7 separate regions of the Homo sapiens genome follow, and regions 1, 2, 3, 4, 6 and 7 are each linked to region 5. The links are contacts of gene promoters, found by promoter capture Hi-C in blood cells and fetal thymus (Javierre and others, 2016). All regions are on one chromosome and are shown on one strand. Each heading gives the region's core, a stretch centred on a gene start or on the middle of the fragment in contact. The rest is flanking DNA. Distances are from core to core; before and after follow the strand shown.

Evidence for each region. Contacts are between HindIII fragments. The CHiCAGO score rates a contact against its expected background, and 5 or more counts as called.
Region 1: a fragment that was not itself captured here is called in contact with the fragment with the promoter of ADM in region 5 in 1 of 17 cell types (neutrophils); the score reaches 5.2 in neutrophils.
Region 2: a fragment that was not itself captured here is called in contact with the fragment with the promoter of ADM in region 5 in 5 of 17 cell types (endothelial precursors, M2 macrophages, M1 macrophages and 2 more); the score reaches 8.0 in endothelial precursors.
Region 3: a fragment that was not itself captured here is called in contact with the fragment with the promoter of ADM in region 5 in 8 of 17 cell types (endothelial precursors, M0 macrophages, neutrophils and 5 more); the score reaches 14.1 in endothelial precursors.
Region 4: a contact is called between a fragment that was not itself captured here and the fragment with the promoter of ADM in region 5, in 2 of 17 cell types (M0 macrophages and megakaryocytes). The highest score is 5.6, in M0 macrophages.
Region 6: a contact is called between a fragment that was not itself captured here and the fragment with the promoter of ADM in region 5, in 1 of 17 cell types (M1 macrophages). The highest score is 6.0, in M1 macrophages.
Region 7: a contact is called between a fragment that was not itself captured here and the fragment with the promoter of ADM in region 5, in 1 of 17 cell types (M1 macrophages). The highest score is 5.1, in M1 macrophages.

The regions. Positions count from the first base shown.
Region 1 is chr11:10,798,216-10,801,292 of GRCh38, forward strand. EIF4G2 (eukaryotic translation initiation factor 4 gamma 2) reads right to left here. Exons shown (of 22, transcript NM_001418.4): 15 at 2,747-2,872; 16 at 2,516-2,620; 17 at 2,217-2,432; 18 at 1,875-2,133; 19 at 1,337-1,541; 20 at 998-1,209; 21 at 777-898. Among named protein-coding and RNA genes, the nearest start is that of SNORD97, 1.9 kb to the right of the region's middle. The HindIII fragment of the contact is 1,977 bases long and covers 840-2,816 here.
Region 2 is chr11:9,991,633-9,994,564 of GRCh38, forward strand. SBF2 (SET binding factor 2) reads right to left here. Exons shown (of 40, transcript NM_030962.4): 10 at 2,289-2,366; 11 at 1,358-1,471; 12 at 783-911. Among named protein-coding and RNA genes, the nearest start is that of LINC02709, 230 kb to the left of the region's middle. The HindIII fragment of the contact is 4,497 bases long and covers 1-2,932 here.
Region 3 is chr11:10,731,219-10,734,037 of GRCh38, forward strand. No RefSeq gene overlaps it. Among named protein-coding and RNA genes, the nearest start is that of CTR9, 19 kb to the right of the region's middle. The HindIII fragment of the contact is 7,606 bases long and covers 1-2,819 here.
Region 4 is chr11:9,826,847-9,829,546 of GRCh38, forward strand. SBF2 (SET binding factor 2) reads right to left here. Exons shown (of 40, transcript NM_030962.4): 28 at 2,510-2,650. Among named protein-coding and RNA genes, the nearest start is that of LINC02709, 69 kb to the left of the region's middle. The HindIII fragment of the contact is 263 bases long and covers 1,239-1,501 here.
Region 5 is chr11:10,303,659-10,306,369 of GRCh38, forward strand. ADM (adrenomedullin) reads left to right here and starts at 1,415. Exons shown (of 4, transcript NM_001124.3): 1 at 1,415-1,571; 2 at 2,022-2,140; 3 at 2,291-2,440; 4 at 2,674-2,711. The coding sequence starts at 2,043. It also overlaps a transcript of SBF2 not described here. RefSeq lists silencers at 327-386, 877-976, 1,157-1,206, 1,887-1,936, 1,957-2,006. The HindIII fragment of the contact is 5,037 bases long and covers 1-2,711 here.
Region 6 is chr11:9,892,956-9,895,990 of GRCh38, forward strand. It overlaps SBF2 (SET binding factor 2), which reads right to left. Exons shown (of 40, transcript NM_030962.4): 17 at 2,988-3,035. All of the region lies in intron 1 of LOC101928008 (a long non-coding RNA gene), which reads left to right. Among named protein-coding and RNA genes, the nearest start is that of LINC02709, 130 kb to the left of the region's middle. RefSeq lists enhancers at 688-1,188, 1,189-1,689. The HindIII fragment of the contact is 2,467 bases long and covers 493-2,959 here.
Region 7 is chr11:10,036,837-10,039,536 of GRCh38, forward strand. The region is part of intron 3 of SBF2 (SET binding factor 2); the gene reads right to left. Among named protein-coding and RNA genes, the nearest start is that of SBF2, 260 kb to the right of the region's middle. The HindIII fragment of the contact is 394 bases long and covers 1,199-1,592 here.

The DNA of each region.
Region 1 (3,077 bases), core at 578-3,077, 490 kb after region 5:
ACTAAACCAGAATCTCTAGGAATAGGCCTGGAACCTGCTTTTTAAACTGCTCTTCAGGTGATTTGAGAGAATGCCCTGATGTTCTTCCCCTAGGGCTACAAGTTCATTCAATAAGAAAAAATCAAATTGTGAGAAATCAGAAACATCTCCTCTTTTTAGAAAAATATATAGTATTTAAACTTTTTTTCTTTTTTTGAGACACAGTCTCACTCTGTTGCCCAGACTAGAGTGCAGTGGTGTGATCTCAGCTCACTGCAACCTCTGCCTCCTGGGCTCAAGACATCCTCCCGAGTAGCTGGGACCAGGACCACAGAACATGTCACCACGTCTGGCTAATTTTTTGTATTTTTTAGAGACAGGGTTTCACTATGCTGCCCAGGCTGGTCTTGAACTCCTGAGCTCAAGTGATCCTCCCACCTCAGCCTCTTAAAGTGCTAGGATTACAGGCATGAGCCACGTGCCCAGCTACAATTTCCTCTTTACTGATGTTTTTAAAAAAGCTTAAATCGAAACTTGTACAGTCACTCCCATGTATATAAGTAGCTATACTCCTTGAAAAGTTAGCTACCTCTAACATCTTATACACCACTAGAATTGATTCATTGTGTAGCTTTACTTAATAATAGCTTCAAATAGTGCAGAATGAAATGTACAGGTGAAGACAAACTACTAACTAGGACTACCTTGCCTGTATTTCAGTTGAAAAAGGCTCTTAACTTGAAGTTAATACCAAGCAAACTGAAGTAAGCAGACCAAATTTTTAACAAAAGACTTACCTGGAACAAAGCCTTGCCTTTTCCCGGAAACTCTTGGGTTATATCTTCTTTCCAAGCCAAGAAAGCTTCTTCTTCAATAATTTCCATGTCATAGAAGTGCACAAAAAAGCGAAGTAACATGCCTTAAAAAAAAAAAAAAAAAGAAAAAAGTAATAAGCCCATTATTTAGTGTTCTGTTTAAGAACTTCCTCACGCCGTTCTTCTGATACAAGTCCTCTCACCTTTTGGGAAGTTGCTGTTATAGCAGTGCACCTGGAGAGCATACAGGGCACTGACTTGTAGATCAACGTGATCATGAAGAAATTTCTGCATTACTGGCTTGAAAGATAGTAGTAGTTGTTTTTCCTGCTCTAACTGTTCTTTGGAAGGAGCAGAGGATGAATCTGTTTCATCGCTGGGGGGGTTTACTTCACTAGAAATGTACTGTAAGAAGCTGGACAGAAAGAGGTCTTGTTAGAACCCAACAGTGAGTTTTCTTGCTCAAGAGACAACTCTTAGTCTCCTACGCTTCTTTTCCAGTACATGAAACATTACCATATGCAGAAAACCATTCGTCTTACCTAGTCATTAAGATGTTCACAAATCCTTTATCTACATGAAGTTTGGGAGAGATGTTATCTTTAATCCATTTATATATGGTTTGAGGGGATGGATCCAACTTTATTTGCTTCAACAGTTCCTTCTCCAATTTGAGGAGTGGGAATAAGAAACTCAGTCCCTTTCCTTCCAAAATCTCCAACATGCGGTCCTTATTCTGATCAATTTCTGAAGAGACAAAGCCACCTGCATCATCTAATAGTTCATTTTACCAAGTTGTCCTGTCCAGAGAGCAGAGCTTCACAAATGATGTCCCCAAGTATGTAAGATCCATGTAGCAGAATAGAGAACCAACCCAGCAAATGAAAAAAACTCAACATACGGATCAAATGAAAGTAGTTAAATTATAAATCTCTCTTTATAGGTGAGATCTGTGGTAATGTTTATCATTATCTGAGCAGGACAATCAGACTGTCTGACCTACATAAATCCACTCAAGGTACCTGAAATCTCTAGATATAATATTAAAAAAACAAAACAAACAAGTCAGCATTCTCTTACCTGGGAGCATTTTCTGCATATTGACCTTGCTTTGTTGAAAAAGTTCTGTTAACCATTCTCGATCTTGTAATTTAGCTAACTGCTGAAGACAAAGTAGGAAGAGAGGAAAATGGGTGCCACTTTCTAGTGGTTGAGCTAGTTCTGAAATGCTCACCAGCTCTGAAATGATGGCACGAGCTGCAAACTGTGCTAAATAGGATTTCACCAAAGGGATGTCAACCTCCAGTTTGGGACACTGGTCCAATACATTCAGGAAAGCCTTGAAAGAAATATACAACAGTTTATCAGTTTTCGAATTTGAGTGGTAAGAGTTCTTACCACACAATCAGTAAAGTGTCCTACCTGCATGAAGTTGTCACTTGTGGCTATCCCTTCCTGTTTGAGTAAACTGATCAAAGAACTTGCTTTTTCTTTATCTTCATCGCTTCTATCTAGTGACAGGATGATTACTTTGCTTAACATCTCAGGAAGAAAGTGTTTAGGAGCCCTCATTTCTCTTACACCATTGACAGCCTCATTTGCATTTCCACTATTTAGATATTCAGTCACAACAGTTTCCTGTGAAGAACACAAGTATCTTTAATGTATTCTCTATCTCAAATACAGGCTAATTACACTAAAATGGGATATTTGAAACTTACAGTTAGTTTAAGGAGTTCTTCCTTTGACGGTGGTGGCTTTTTGCTGGTCTTGGCAGGCTTTTCCTGGATAAGCGGTGGATTAGTTTTGAGACCAAGCTGAGGTGTCTAAAAAACAAGCAATGACAGACTTTTTTTAAAAAGAGGACTATGAAATTAGGGGGAAGAACACACTAAATTTAGAAAAAAGTCTTCAGATATCTTTAGAAAATGCTGTCCTACTATGGTCTGTACCTGTCCCAGAGGTGGTGTTTGAGTGCGTGGTGGTTGTGCACTAGGAGGAATCATAGTTATCTGGGGCTGAAGCTTTGGCACTTGATTTTTATTCATTAGGAACGACTGAGCAGGCCTCAGGCTAATCTGGAATTGAAAACAAAATATATCTAAATTAACAACATGCAGTTGGCGAACATATTAAATACAACATTCTAAAATCCTATACAGTGACAGAATCTAGGGAAACATTAAGCTTTTTGAAAAACTAAAGAAGGTACTCCACATTAACAGGTTTAATTTTTGGCAAAAAATTTAAAGATCTGATGCATACAGTAGTAAGATACTATTA
Region 2 (2,932 bases), core at 415-2,914, 310 kb before region 5:
TGTGAATATAGAGTTAAATGATAAAAGGAAAGATGCTTTTAAAAAAGAGCACAATAAATGCAAAACAGCATCCTTATTTTGAGTCACATCTGCCCTATTTCTCCCTTTATATGGCTAATTCCTTGAAGATAGAGACAAAAATTTGTCTTCCATATATTTAATGTCTCCTAAGACAGGTAGAGAAATGTTGATAATTGATTAGTGAGAATGCCACAAACTTAAACTATGGCTCTATGATTTTGATAGACTAAATGTAACTCCAGTTTGAAGTAATTTCAGCTATCTTAGCTTCAAATTAGACCTTTCTCCCTAAAACACTGACAAAAGAATTACTGTATTAGGGCCTTTAAAAATAAGACTTCTATTTATACAATCACTATTAAATTTTCAAAAATATTTTAAACAACCATTTTTTAAAATGTAATATTTTAAAATATGAGTAGCTTTTGGAGTATGAGTGGTTTTCGGTTACATGGATGAATTACATAGTGGCGAATTCTGAGATTTTAGTGCACTCATCACCTGAGTAGTATACATTGTTCAATTATTTAAAATTCAGTTGTTCAAAAATTATATGTATTTCCAAGGCATCTTATAATTTTTTGTAATTTTTATAATCCACATTAAAATATCGAGATTTGATAAGCATAATAAATAACATTGGGATTATTTAATACCTAATTTATATTTGACTATATAAATATGGAAAATGTTACTTTTTACTTTTAACTACTAGTCTAATTATGTCTATAAATAATGCCTTCATTTAATAAGAGCTATACCTCATCAAAGAGATCACAAGATCTATAAGGAGGACCTCTTTCTGAAACAAAACCTGCAAATGCCATTCCACTGAGTACTTTAGTGAGGAAATCATTCTCGACCAAACCACGCTGCCCCAAGAATGCTGTCTGTGAAAAAAGAAAATGTGAAATAATAATTTATCACTTGGTAACGGACAAATGGTCAAAACAGAAATACAATAAAAAGATCAAAGCCTATATAAATCCCTTCATGTATAAATATATGCTGTCATAAAATATATTTCTCTCAAAGAGAGTTATTCTGAAATACTACATATATTGAAAAGAATAAAAATGAATCTGTCTACATGTCAGGAGAAGAAATCAGAAATTAACATTCAATTTTAAAAGAAAAATTGATTTAAAGTTAACATATTCTAAGATATTATGAGTTCCATATTATTATTAAGAACTGATATCTAACCACACAGAGATTTTAAATAATCACATTTGATAAATCAAGGTCAAAATAAATGGCTCGGAAAAAAAACCAAGTAGTTTTATTAAATTAGAATATATTTTTTGGACAGATACAATATAGTACTCTATCTTACCTTGTGGAAATGTATTACTGGCTCTGCATGAATTCTTATAAGTTGCAGGCAGGATCTATATCCTTGGAAGAGTTGTGCAAATAATCTAAGGAAAACGGCTCGCACCTCTTTATCCTAAAAATATAAGAAGAAATGTTAGGTAATTTAACTTTTTAAAAACAAATGAAATATCAAGTCAAAAAGGTGAAAAGGGCATATATTCCAAGTCCTTTGATTTTTATATCCACCAAAACAATTACAGTCACAACCAAACATAAGAAGAAAAAACTCTCAAGATTGTATTTAATCCAGCTTTTATTGGAATCACAGTTTAGAACTGTAAGGAAACTTACAGATTCTGTTAGTCAATGCCTTACTTAATTGATCAGGAAATGAAGGTCAAGAATGCTTAAGTATATGTGTTCAGCTCCCTGAGGTTCCTTATTGGCTACAAAGCCCACTGCTAAGAAATGCACTGAGCAAAATAAAAAAGGGGCCTCTGTTATATACGTAACCTTTTATGGCTTCTAATTGAAACTATTTTCATCCACAGACTCTTCAAACTTGATTCTCTCCTATAACCAACATTCTTTATATCCATTCTTGTAAGCATCTCTTTTGTTTTGAATCCTTGTGTGGCCATTTCAATTTGATGCTTGGCACAGTTTTCCAGGCTATAATCTAGGCTCTGATTTTCTGTCCTACACTTAACTCATGCCTCCTCAGGGCAACAGTCTTAGCCCTAGTGGCCTCTTGCCCAGTGAACTTCCCTGTGGCTCCTCCTTGAGCAGGACATAAGGACAGTCAGCGGCAAGTATCCTAATTTCTAATTTGGGGCACTTTTTACTCTGCTGTCCATCTAACTCTAACTTCACTTAGCTTCTTTAACAACCCTATAAATAAAAATACAGCTCTCTTTAACAGCATTAAATTTAAATATTAAACTTCTTACCAGCATTTTTGAGTGGGATAAAGCTGTTCGTGGAGGAGGAAAAGCATGATCTGCTACTTCCAAATCTGGGTGTAAAATCTAAAGCAAAAAAGTTTTGTTATGTAAAATATCATAATATCAATGAAATCTATTATTGAGACATTAAGATGAAAATGTCAGCATATGAATTATAATATATTCCCTCCATGAATACAATTCAATTAGCTGGGGTAGTTCTATATGTACTATTGTAGAAAGATCTCCAAGACAAAATATTCAGTTGAAACATGTTCGGCCGGGCGCGGTGGCTCACGCCTGTAATCCCAGCACTTTGGGAGGCTGAGGCAGGCAGATCACGAGGTCAGGAGATCGAGACCATCCTGGCTAACACGGTGAAACCCCATCTCTACTAAAAATACAAAAAAATTAGCCGGGCGTGGTGGTGGGCGCCTGTAGTCCCAGCTACTTGGGAGGCTGAGGCAGGAGAATGGCGTGAACCCGGGAGGCGGAGCTTGCAGTGAGCCGAGATTGCGCCACTGCACTCCAGCCTGGGCGACAGAGCGAGACTCCATCTCAAAAAAAAAAAAAGAAAAGAAAACATGTTCTAGAAAAATACACATAGTATGGCCTAATTTATTTGAAAATAAAACAAAATAAACCCTAAA
Region 3 (2,819 bases), core at 161-2,660, 430 kb after region 5:
TATGACAGTGAAAGAGATCTGACCTAACTGACTCCATCTTGCTTCTAACCTCCAAGCTGTCCGTGTTCATTCCTGGGCACAGGCCGAACTAACTTTGGGAGGAAGTCAGTTTATAGTTTAACTTTGAAATAAAGATGATAACAGCCCTTTCCCAAAACAAACCCCCTTCCTGCCTGGGAACTAGACTGCCTTTGCAGGACTAACAAATTTGCCACAAGATTAGAAATTGTGGTTTAGGAGTCATGCAGCTGGAGGCTGTAAGATTCTGAACCTTCCCAAATTGCATCCTGGGGCTAACATCACTATTGTAAAGCCTAAGATCAGTGTTTGAGATATTTTGCAGACCCTGCCCTCAAAGGATGAGCTGGTACCACCCAGATTGATAAACTGGCTCATCCAGTCATGTGGCCCCTACCCAGGAACTGACTCAGTGCAAGAGGACAGCTTCAACTCCCTATGACTTCATATCCCACCTGACCAATCAGCACTCCCCACTTCCCGACACCCTACTCGGCAAATTATCATTAAGAACCCCAATCCTCGAGTTTTCAGGGAGACAGCTTTGAGTAATAATAAAACTCTGGTCTCCCACACAGCTGACTCTGTGTGAATTAAACTCTTTCTCTATTGCAATTTCCCTGTCTTGATAAATTGGCTCTGTCTAGGCAGCAGGCAAGGAGAACCCAATAGGCAGTTACAGTCACATCTTGGTGTGTCCCCTCATGTGTGTGTGTGTGTGTGTGTGTGTGTGTGTGTGTGTACTGTACAGAGTGAGTTGCTTCTAACATAATAGGACTAAAGTGATGGGGTGTCACTTCTGAGATTAGGCTATAAAGGACTATGACTTTCATCTTCCTTGCATCTTCTCTCTCTCTCTCTCTTTCTCTCTCTCTCTCTCCCTGCTAGCTAGGGAGTCAAGGGGGGGTACCCAGGACACAGAATTGAAGAAGACACTCCTTCTCTGGCCCATGCAAGTGCAGGGTCAGCACCTGAGAGTGAGTGTCTCTTCAAATGCTGTGCCCCGAGTGCCTTGCCTGCCTCACCTTCCTTCTAGCCAGCTCCCAGGGCAGACCTGACCTGCACCCCTATCCCAGCCTTGACAATCTCTGAACAGGTCCTGGCCAAGCATGGTGATCAGATTTCCTACCTCCTCCAGCTTGATTTCTGGGCCAGATGTCAGAGATAGGGGGCACCCGGATCTCTGAGAACCAGCTCTTCTGTGCCAGGCTTCCTGGCACCGAAAAACCAAATATATTTCAATCCCTCTGTCCTCATGTCTCCATGATGGATACTGGTCTTTTGTATAGTCAGCAGGTCCTTCTCCTTTCATACCAATAGACAATGACAGAGGTAGTCCGAGTCGAAGCCCACCGCACTTCCCACCAGCTTGCTCCCAAGCGCCAAAAACAGAAAAAAGCACTGTGCATGAGCTGCTTTCCCGTGCCCTCTCAGTATGGCGTAGTATATGAGCATGGCAACGTTTACCAGGAGGGGATTTTAGAATGCCTCCGAATCTTCCAAGCACTATGTATTTTAATGTGTATGATGACAGCTATCATTTGAGGGATGCTAGGCACTATGCTAAGTGCTTTACTTGTGGTTTTTGGTTTGATTTCCTCAAAGACCTTAGGAGGTAGGTCTCATTTTTAAGGTCTTAATAGGTTTATTAACCTATTAAGTTAATAGGTTAATAGAAACTCAAGTCTTAATAGGTTTATTAACTTGTGTGAGATCACGGTTAATACACCGTGGCCCTGGGACTTGAATTCAGTCTAGCTGGGCTCTAAGCCTGTGTGCCCAGCACTATGCCACACTGCCTCCCCAGCAGAGTTTGACTTTCCAAGGCCCACTGGGCTTCTCCTTCCTACCATGATCAGAATCCTGGTATAAGAGTTTCTCTGCCAGGTGCAGTGGCTCACGCCTGTAATCCCAGCACTTTGGGAGGCAGAGGTGGGCAGATGACCTGAGCCCAGGAGTTCCAGACCAGCCTGGCCAACATGGCAAAACCCCATCTCTACTAAATACAAAATTAGCTGGGTGGCGGCTTGCACCTGTAGTCTCAGCTACTCGGGAGGCTGAAGCACAAGAATCACCTGAACCCCAGAGGTGGAGGTTGCAGTGAGCCAAGATCGTGCCACTGCACTCCAGCCTGGGCAACACAGTGAGACTCTGTCTCAGAAAAAAAAGAGTTTCTCTATTCTCCCCATCCCCCCTCTGTCACTCCCATGAAAGTTTAACTAAACATGAGAAGTTAAGTAAACATACAAATAAAACTTGCCTTCTACCTCTTTAACATGTCCCTTCCCGAGAAGCCCACCTAGACCAAATCACAGGCAGGAGGCCGCTATGGGGGTGGCAAATGGCATTCTGTTCTGGAAGGGCAACCACAAACTTTAGAGCCAAGAAGCCCTGGCTTGGAAGCCCAGTTCCACCCCTTTGTAGCTGAGTGGGTGATTCTGTCTCTGAGCCTCATTCATAATCTGTAAAATGGGGAAAGCAATGCTCACTTTTTAGGGTGCTTAATTCACTCATTAAATGAATACATTTAAATATATATAATATATACTGATATAATTGAATATATTATATATATAAATAATAATCCTGTGCCCTGAGAGCCACCATGTCAGCCTAGGTTTCCTGCTCTTTGAAATTTCCAAACATTGGCTGGAATCTCATCTTGGCCTCTGCAAGGAACAAGATCTATTTAGAGATTTGTTACAGATTTCAATTGTGTCACTTTCCTTTTTAAGGCAAAGCGGCTACAGTGGGCCATGGTTTTAAATACTATTTTCTTCTTCTCTGTTATATGCATAAGG
Region 4 (2,700 bases), core at 120-2,619, 480 kb before region 5:
TCATTTTGCTCTTGTTGCCCAGCAATGGTGCGATCTTGGCTCTATGCAACCTCTGCCTCCCGGTCTATGCAACCTCTGCCTCCCGGGTTCAACTGATTCTCCTGTCTCAGCCTCCTGAGTAGCTGAGACTACAGGTGTGCACCACCACGCCTGGCTAATTTTAGTATTTTTAGTAGAGACAGGGTTTCACCATGTTGGCCAGGCTGGTCTGGAATTCCTGACCTCAGGTGATCTGCTTGCCTCAGCCTCCCAAAGTGCTGGGATTATAGGCGTGAGCCACCGTGCCCGGCCTACTTAGTATCTTTTTAAGGGAATTCATCATTATATGGGGGTGAGAGGAAGAGTCTAAGATTCTGTGACTCCATTGTGAGACAGTGGGACTTCACAGTTGAGATATCTGGGGCCAGGTGCTTTCTCACGCCTGTAATCCCAGCACTTTGGGAAGCCCAGGTGGGAGGACTGCTTCAGGCCAGGAGTTCAAGACCAGCCTGGGCAACATAGTAAGACTCTGTCCCAAAAAATATTTTAAAAATTTAGCTGGGAGTGGTGGCACACACCTGTAGTCTTAGCTCCTTGGGAGCTTGAGGCAGGAGGATTGCTCAAGCCCAGGAGTTGGAGGCTGCAGTTAGTTAGCTATGACAGTTCCACTGCACTCCAGCCTGGGCAACAAAGTAAGACTCTGTCTTAAAAAAAAAAAAAAAAGAATCTGGTCTGGAATTTCCTCTGCAGAGTGAAAAGAATCTCACATAAACTTCCAGAGAACAAAGTGGATGACCTTTTGGAGCTTAAAAGAATGAATACTTAGCCTTTCTCTATTTCCTCATGTCAGCAGCTACCTGGATATCATGATGTCTTATCCTCCAAACCAGTATTTCAGAGGACAGGAGCAAAAATAACAGGACTTGGAGTTCCTTCGATCTGGAATCACTTCTCCTTAACTATCTATACTTCTGTGATAGATTGGTCTTTCTGCCCTGCAAATCTGGAGTATCAGGGAGTACTCCCAGGGCTGACTCATCATTTAGACATGCTCCCCTTACCTCTTAATGCTCCCAAACTTATCAATATATATGACATCAGCAATTATTATACTTCTTGTCCCACAAGGCTAAGCTCATCTGTCATCATGCTAGTAATACATTTGACCATTCATTCAGAAGAGGGTAATTAAGAACAATTTGAATCATAATTAATTGATTTAAAATATCAACTATCTAGAAAAATGCTTTCTGCTTTTAAGCTTGCATCAGTGCTCAGTTATAAAATCAATCTTACTAACCTCCTTGAGCAAAGCTATTGGATGGGTTTACATCCAAATGTCCTGGCACTACCTGCTTAAGCACAGTGGACATTCTTGAAGTCCTCCTTTCAGTCCCTAAAGTCAGCCAAAAAGAAGAACAAAAACCATGTTGTTTGGGTTAACATTACTCAAATGACAAAAAGTTATCTTCAGGTGTAGCATGTTTAACTGCTGCCAAACATTGTACTTTTAAGTACCCAAAGCTTTATTAGAGATAACAAGGCAATGTTATTATTAATCAGAGATAACACACATTTGCAAGATTATAGAGAGTTAGGTTTGGCAAGTGCAATCAGAGAATTTAATGATAAATGGAGCAAGGCATGCATGGTGTTATTTTACAAGAAAAGCCACTTTCTGCTTATGTTGAGCTAATTCAAATAGCTGATTAAGCCAAAGAGACCAACTTCTCAAGTCACATGCTCCTGTGTCTAACACATTAGGGTTACCTCTACATGAACCCTTTGGGGTTCCATCACATGATAACTGAAACAGAATATTAGTACAAGTCTTAATGGCTTCATCCAAATCCAGTGAAAACAAATTGTACTGAAAATCATAATAGGCTGCAGATATTTTGGGAATTTCAAACTTATAAATGATGATTTTAATAAATACACATTTAACAAACATGTTCCACTTACATATTCCATGTCATAAGAATATTTTAAAGTCTATGAAAGATAAATATGGGAATAAAGGGTGACTTTATTTATATTTCCCACTTCCTCTCCAATTACTCTTTTGAAAAGGAAATAACTGAGCTGGGTATGATAAATATGGGAATAAAGGGTGACTTTATTTATATTCCCCACTTCCTCTCCAATTACTCTTTTGAAAAGGAAATAACTGAGCTCACACCTCACACCTGTAATCTCAGTACTTTGGGAGGCTGAGGCGGGAAGACTGCTTGAGCCCAGAAGTTCGAGACCAGACTGGGCAACACAGTGAGACCCCATCTCTTAAAAAAAAGAAAATAAAACAAAAAAGAAAAAACTGAATCTCTAAGTTAAGTTACTATTTACTAGACATTAATAGTGGTAGATTTCTAAGTAAAAGGAGTTAAACTTATAACCCTTCAGGGTAAAACTTTTAAGAAGTCTTGGTGAAGGAACAGTACAAATAACAAATAACAGTACAAATAACCCTAGGAACAGAACTGACCTTTCATTAGAAGCTGTCAAGAAGAAAAGTATTATCAAATCTTACCTGGAGATAGAGCAAAGGCTGGCCTGACAGTAAGAGTGCTGTTGCCTCTGAGTTTCTGATGGACAGAAACAGCATTCAGTAAGGCTTGCAAGTATTTCTCTTGTTCTATGCTACTGGAAGATTCTAAAGAGGAGGTAGGAGCTATAAAAGGAAAATATATTGAATAAAATAAACTGTCTCTGTGTTAACAA
Region 5 (2,711 bases), core at 165-2,664:
TGAGGACTAGAAGCCTGTTTGGCTAGTGGTCTCGCACCTTTGGCCTCTCCGTCGAGTCGCTGGGCTTCAGGACATTCGATTAGAGGAGTGGTTAGTAGGACCCCAGAAACCCACAAGCACGAAGCAGGAAGCCCCGTGGCTTAGCCTTTCCTTCCCAGTTTGGCCCCCAGGAGAGAAGTAAGAAAGAGAAGAAGCTGTGATGAAAGAGCACAAACGGGTGACAAACGTGTCTAGCGTGATTCATCATGAACAGGCACAAATTCTTTGGGCGGGGGCTAGGACTCTCCTTTGCCCCTTGAGAAGTTGGTGACCCCAGCCTAGAGGAATCCACGCCGCGCCCCAGTCGGCCGTGCTAGCGTGTCGGGCCGAGTAGGGACTCTGCTGCTTCCTACCTGCAGGGTGACTTCCCCTCTCTGCAGATACCTCCCCTCTCTGAGCTTGAATTTTCTACCTGCTGAAATGGGAAAAGGAATGTTACCTTCCTTGCCTGACTCAAGGGTGGCTGTGAAGCTCAAAGTAGACTGGGATGTGGCCGTGCTTGGTAAACTGTAAAATGATTAGCATACGTGAAGCGTTAGTGTGCTCCCTGGCAGTCAGTCCTCACGTTTACGATGGATTAATGAAGGCAGCCAGGCACAATCTCAGGTTATGACCTTATAAGGCATAATAGGATTACAAGGAGGCAAAATGAAACAGTATATTTCCTCCTAATTTTGGTTATTCCTATGTTTCCAAATAGAAATGAAAATTCTGAAATTTCAGATAATTCCCCCCTCCAAATCCCAATTCTCAATTTAGCTTTTCTGAGCCTTGTCCCTACCGTGAAATCTTACTAGCTCACCCCGAAACGCCGGGGTCTTGGTCCTCTGGGGGACTAGTGAGTCCTGCTCCTCTCGGCTTTGCTCCGTCCCTGCCCCGGCCCCTCCGCGGGAGTCTGGGGTCGCGGCCCGGTCAGGCGCCAAGCCGGCAGGGGGGCGCGGTCCACTTGAGGCCACAGCTCCCCAGGTCCAGGGCTCGGGCCATCCGCGCTGTCCCTTCCGCGGGCTCTTGCTGTTCTTCGCCAGGAGGCTTTGCACTCCGGGCCGCATGGGTCCTGGATAAGGACCTCAAGAGGTTGTAGTGGCGCCCCTTCGCTCCGGCGTACTGTCTGAACCCTGTGCCCAAAGAGGGCTGTGGCAGTTCCTGCACCAACCGCCTGGAGCCCATACCTAAGCCCTCTGGGCACGAGGGACCTCCTCTCCCCCGCTCCCCCCTCCCCCCATCCCAACTCCAGCCCCAAAGGAAGCAATGCGCGCGTCCGAGAGCAGGAGCGCGCGTGGCTGAGGAAAGAAAGGGAAGGCAACCGGGCAGCCCAGGCCCCGCCCCGCCGCTCCCCCACCCGTGCGCTTATAAAGCACAGGAACCAGAGCTGGCCACTCAGTGGTTTCTTGGTGACACTGGATAGAACAGCTCAAGCCTTGCCACTTCGGGCTTCTCACTGCAGCTGGGCTTGGACTTCGGAGTTTTGCCATTGCCAGTGGGACGTCTGAGACTTTCTCCTTCAAGTACTTGGCAGATCACTCTCTTAGCAGGTAGGTGCCGCAGACCCTGCGGGTTAAGAGGTGGGGTGGGGGGCAGTGCTTGCCAAGGCCCTAAACTGGGAGCGCTGGGTGAGGGGAACAACCCACTTTGGAGGGTTCTCTGAGAGATAGATACACCCCATATCCTGGGCCCAGCTCGTGCACACAGCTGGAGGTCCAGAGACCCAGTCCCCTCTGCTCCGTCAGCCAAGTTCCAAGAAGTTGAGCAGAGACCCTCTGGGAGCCTGGCGGGGTGCAGCGGCCTCCCCTGCGGGGCCTGTCACCCGGCCGGCGCGTGCAAACGCCTCTGGCGCCTCTCTGCGCGGAGGGAGATAAGCGTCTGAGCCAGGGAAAGCGCGGGCTAAACCCGCCTCGCCGGGGCCCCTGCCCGCCCTCCGTGCCCCGCCCGGGCGGTGCAGCTGGCCCGGGTGCTCACGCTCGACTCTCTTTCTTCTTTTCCAGGGTCTGCGCTTCGCAGCCGGGATGAAGCTGGTTTCCGTCGCCCTGATGTACCTGGGTTCGCTCGCCTTCCTAGGCGCTGACACCGCTCGGTTGGATGTCGCGTCGGAGTTTCGAAAGAAGTGAGTCCGGGCAGCGCCTTCCCCCTTGCTGGTACCTGGCAGGCAAGGGGAACTGACCGTTGGTCCCGAAGGTCTAGAAGTGAATGGGAGCAGGGACAGGCCTGGGCGTCACCTGAACGCACGCGAATCGGGTCTGCTTGTGTTTTCCAGGTGGAATAAGTGGGCTCTGAGTCGTGGGAAGAGGGAACTGCGGATGTCCAGCAGCTACCCCACCGGGCTCGCTGACGTGAAGGCCGGGCCTGCCCAGACCCTTATTCGGCCCCAGGACATGAAGGGTGCCTCTCGAAGCCCCGAAGACAGGTAACTACGCCCTGTGCTGTCCAGGGACGGGAGGGAAGGAAGGTGTGCGGGAGGAGTTCTCTGTCTCCACTCCCCTGGCCCGGGGGATCGTCGGGGCTGGACCGCAGCTCAGATGGCGCGAGCAGTTTCCAGCTCCCTCTGGCTCTAGAATGGCTCCCGTTCCCGGTGTTGGGGCCAAAGCTCTGCTTGATGGGGTCTCAAGTTGCCTTTCTTCCCCCTCCCCCCGCCCGCAGCAGTCCGGATGCCGCCCGCATCCGAGTCAAGCGCTACC
Region 6 (3,035 bases), core at 476-2,975, 410 kb before region 5:
TAAGTTCCTAGGGACCATGTCAATGTTTTATTAATGTTGCTGCCCAGATGTTGCCTGTTATAGTAGCTTTTTATATTGAGATACTCAATAAACTTTTGTTCCACTGAAAAAAATTAATAATGTTATTTAAAGTATTTTAAAAGTAAGTTTAAACAAGACAAGCAGCTGAGTCCATTCTCTGAAGCAATGCTGGCAAGACCCAGGAATTTATACTGGCTGGACAGTATGAGGATGGCTAATTTGCAATTTGTGCCCAGGAATATGTAATTTACATCTACTTCCTGAATTAACAAATCTAATATGCACTAGAAATAATTTTCCAAAGGGTAAAGATTTAGAAAATATCCGAGAATCCGTGTGATCTACCTTACCTAACCCCTCTGTTATCAATGCAGTACTTCTTTCTTCCAAATCTATCCTTCTCTGTCTTGCTTTGTGATACTGGAACTGGCCCTTATAAACATTTCTCCTTTGCCAAAATGCAGAATATTAAGCTTTGCCAGTAAAGGTGCTGAAGGAACACTGCAGTAGAAAGTGTATTCTCTTCCTAGTTCTGGTGTACTTTCTCCTTCTTGCTCCTGTGGTAAGCACCTAATGGTGGTGTGTGGGACCACAGTGGCAGTGCTATCTATAAAGTTTCAGTGGTACCCCAGGTGGTAGCTTCCTATCAAGTTTCACTAGCACCCTAGAAGTTTCACGGCCATCCTAGTGGGGGGCTTCCTAGCAAGTCTTGCCAGCACTCCAGCAGGCAGTTTACTGCTTGCCAGTTCTGGTCTCTTGAAATTCGATGCCATCCAGTGGCCACAACACCTCTCCAACATGATCTGAATCAGCCTAGATCTGGGAAGGGGCTCTCTTCCAAGTTTGCTTCTTTGTTAGGTAGTATGCCTGAGCCCTAGAGGTAGTAGTTGCTCCCTATATTTTATTCCTGCATTCTTACGAATTCTCTTTACCTCTTAGTAGTTAATCCCCTATTACTACTTAATAACTCCTTATATTAAAATTTCTGGTCAGGCGTGGTGGCTCACCACTGTAATCGCAGCACTTTGTGAGGCCAAAGTGGGCAGACAGCTTGAGTCTAGGAATTTGAGACCAGCCTGGGCAACATGATGAAACTCTGTCTCTACAAAAAAATACAAAAATCAGCCAGGCGTGGTGGCTCACCCCTGTAATTGCAGCACTTTGGGAGGCCAAGGTGGGCAGACAGCTTGAGTCTAGGAATTTTAGACCAGCCTGGGCAACATGGTGAAACTCTGTCTCTACAAAAAAATACAAAAAATCTGCTGGACATGGTGGTTCACACCTGTAATCCCAGCACTTTGGGAGGCCAAGGCAGGCGGATCACAAGGTCAGGAGATCAAGACCATTCTGGCCAACACGGTGAAACCCTGTCTCTACTAAAAACACAAAAATTAGCTGGGTGTGGTGGCACGTGCCTGTAGTCCCACCTACTCGGGAGGCTGAGGCAGGAGAATCACTTGAACCTGGGAGGTGGAGGTTGCAGCGAGCTGAAATCGCGCCACTACACTCTAGCCTGGGCGACAGAGCGAGACCCTGTCACAAAAAAAGAAAAAAAAAATTAGCTGGGTGTGGTGGTGTGTGCCTGTAGTTCCAGCTACTTGGGAGGCTGAGATGGGAGGATCACTTGAGCCCAGGAGGCAGAGGCTGTAGGGAGCTAAGATTGTGCCACTGCACTACAGCCTGGGCAACAGAGTGAAACACTGCCTCAAAAAAATAAAAATAGGCCAGGCGCAGTAGCTCATGCCTGTAATCCCAGCACTTTGGGAGGCCGAGGCAGGTGGATCACCTGAGGTCAGGAGTTTGAGACCAGCCTGACCAACATGGTGAAACCCCATTTCTACTAAAAATACAAAAACTCAGCCAAGTGTGGTGGTACATGCCTATAACCCCAGCCACTTGGGCAACTGAGGCAGGAGAATCACTTGAACATGGGAGGAGGAGGTTGCAATGAGCCGAGATTGAGCCATTGCACTCTAGCCTGGGCAACAAGAGCTAAAACTCTGTCTCAATAAATAAATAAATAAAAATAAAACAAAATTTCTCTGTTCAAATTACTGGTGTGGTTTCTGGCTCCTGACTAGACCTTGACTGATTCATCCCTAAACCAAAATAACCCAAAACAAACTCATCCAACAACAAACCATGCCAACCACAAAAAATCAAATCTAAGCCCACCACTAAAACCTATGTATGATTAATCTGCTAACACAGAGAAACAGTATGGCAGTTACCAAACTTGTTAACTTATTGCTTCCTGAAGCTGACTGTGCATGTAGCTGAATAGTAAGTCAGCTGCTACCACAGATTTACTGTTTATGATTGCATATTTCAGAAGGATGTATTAAATGCATTGTTCTGAGTGTGGGTGGTTATCTAATTCTTTACAAGTCCTTCACGGGAAAAGAAATTTGCTGGTTTTTTCTGCCATAAGAATGAATCTATTTATGAAAAAGCATAGATATAACTGTAGTAAGTGACAGAATTTTAAAAAATCACTGTGAACATTCCAGAAAGTTCTCAGAAGGTTCGCAGAAATTACCAGTAAAGTTAAACTCTAATTTCTGGCTTCAATGTCATTCATTCAATAAATATTTACTGAGTGGCCCTGGGACATAGCAGTAAAGAGGACAGACAATATTCCAGCCTCATGAAATTTACTTTCTGTGATGGGGAAAAAACATGTAAACAAACCAATATGCAACATAAATTCAGGTGTTATGAAGTACTATAAAGAAAATTAAGGAAAAGGATGTAACGGGTGTGGGTGGTATTTTAGGAGATGATTTAGTGTTCTATATTAAATTTCCTACACATAGCATGCAATAAATGTTATAATAAATATAACCGCAGATATATCTTAGGCATGCTACTAAGAGGACAGGATTTTCATGTAGTTCCATAATAAATCAAACTGAATACATTTATGTAAATCATAACAAGCTTATATATGGACCAATGAAACTTACCCTATAGAAAGCACTGGTCAAAGGGAGTAATGCTGCGGCAATGTTGTA
Region 7 (2,700 bases), core at 146-2,645, 270 kb before region 5:
TGTTTTCCTTTAATTATATTTGAATGTAGTAATTTTTGTTTTAAAATGAAATAGTAACAATACACAGTTCTCACTGCAGCCCTTCCTAGCCTGAAATAGTTGTCAAAATTTAAGAAAAGGTATTTGATGTTGAAGGATTCTGGAAACTTAATCCCAAAAGTTTCTCCTGTTGTTTTAAAGTCTTATATCATTTTAAGCATGTTGCACCAATTAATCATAGTTAATCCAGTGACAGTTTTTCCCTACAAAATACATCTGTGAGGGACATCAAGGGGACTGTTAAGATTCAGCATTCTGTCCATTTGCCAATTCTCATTTTCAAAAGGGGAGGAGAAGACAGATTCTTTGGTAAAAGACATAATCTTCAGCATCGATACTCTAAGGAGAATCCCATGTGGATACTTGCAAAGTTGTAAATTATCAAACTATAGAATAAACTCAGAATACACAAGTCTCCCAATTTTTTCTCTGTGTGAATTATGTTACGCATGCTAGTTTTCACCAGACTCTAACAAAGTCTAGTCTTGTTGAATAAGACCTAAGAATTAGTCTCTAGAATGCTACCAAGTGTAAAGTTGATTACAATATCAGCAAGCCCAATTCCCAAATACTGCTATTTCGAATTTTTAGTTCAAAGAGTTGGATTACCTGGGACTAAACCCTTCTTGAAGGAACTAAGGTTTTTCCAATGAGATATTCATCACAGTTATTCATAATATTGACAAAACAGGAAATACATGTCCATCAGGGGATTAATTAAACCTACCTATATGGTCAACTAGTGTACAGCAACTTTTGTTAAAAAAAAAAAATCCTTATTATTGGAAGAAAATATGTCAAACCATCTTTTTCTGTTCTCTCAAATTTTTTCCTGCATGTTCTCTCTATGTCTTCTACAATGAGCATAGTTTACTATGATAAAGAGCGGGATGGTGGGGGTGGGGGAGTACCAAAAATGATTGGGTTGTAGTACTTCAGCTAAATCTATACACTGTTTTGTGTGTGGTTTTCTCCACTGTTTTATACCATCTAGAGACGAATTTATAAATTCCTTTTTATTACTCCATTTTCCAGGTAATTACTTAACTGCTTGGAATTAATTATATGATACTATGTTTAAATTTTTTTCTTTTCTCAAATAGCTCATCAACTGTTTAAATAATATTTGTTGAAATACACACATTCCATTGATTTATAAAGCTTCTATTGTTGGACACTGATCTCCTATACACAATAGGGTCTGCTTCTGGAGTATTGGTTTTGTTCCCATAATTGTTTTTACCCTTGACACTTAATTCTTGAACCTATAGCACACTGATACAATTTTTGCAGCTTTGTAGTATATGTGGTTATTATTTGGTCCTTGGAGACAGAATCAATCAAGCACTTTAACTTGGTACTGAATGTCCCTAAGTAAGCCTCATCTGTAAAATGGAAATGTTAAAACCTATCAAATGGTGTTTTGTGAGAATAAACTATATGTGAGTTAAATAAAATAGAATGAAATAAAGTGTTGTAAAACTTTTAGCACAGTACCCAGAACATAAGACTTTAATTTATCATAAGCACTACAATCTTTTTTCCTTTGCACAAGCTTTTTGTTTGAATTGTCCTTTTTCTTTCCCTTACTCTAGGTGTTAGCTCTTATTAAAATGTCCACTGAGTCTTTTAAACTCTGTATGATTTATTCCAGTTGCCTAGTCTGCAATTATTATCTGTTTCACTGAATGATACTTAGCATATGATACTTTGGAATGGTTTTGTACTTAAGTTTTGGTTCTGCTTCCCAAGCTAGATTTGAAGCCCACTGTGATGGAGAAACGTATCTTATGTCTTCTATGTCTCTCCCTCTTTTTTCCTCCTCTTATCTCTCGAAATTACAAAATTCATTCCCTCTCTCTTTCTTTGATGACAATTTGATGACACACCAAATGTTCTCACTGAGAACTGCATAATTACCACTGATTCAGAGACAAGTATATAAACATATGAAATAACTTTAAAAAGATATAGAACTAAATTTAAATTTTAGATATTTAAAATTTTATACTTTTAACATATTTTAAGATAATCAAATGATTATTTAGATAAGTAATAAAAGTCAATGTAAATCTATCATATTTTGCTGATTACTTAAAAAAATTTAGGATCACATTACCTAGTTGAGTAATTTTGGGAACATATTATCAAAAGTTTAATGCCAAGTTTTGCTTATGATTACTGACAGTGTTACTGTATCTTGGAAAGATAACAGAGCTAACATTTTTAAAGTTGCACAATCACATTCTGGATGGTGTATGTCCCTAAGTTCCCCCTCTTTAGGCTTCCAAATAATGTGTCATAGTATATTTGGTATGAAGTAATTCACACCAAAAAAGAATTAAAAGATCTATTTTGAACTGATGATATGATCCAAAAAGAAAAGAAAAACACATTTTTAAAGGGACATAAACAGTTCATGCCAAAAATGAAAACAACTTTACTGATGACAAGAAAGAAACATCTTCTGGGTTCTATTTTTTTTTCAAATTCTGCTTCATTGTTTATCCCTCTTTTCCACCAAGCCCAAAAGACATTAACTTATGTTTCCAGAAAAGTGGTCTTACAATTCTGGCTAGTACCTAAGTACAATTATATAGAATCCGGAATTCTCACAACCTATCCGCATTTTCAAAATCTTGGAAAAACTGATATGAAGCA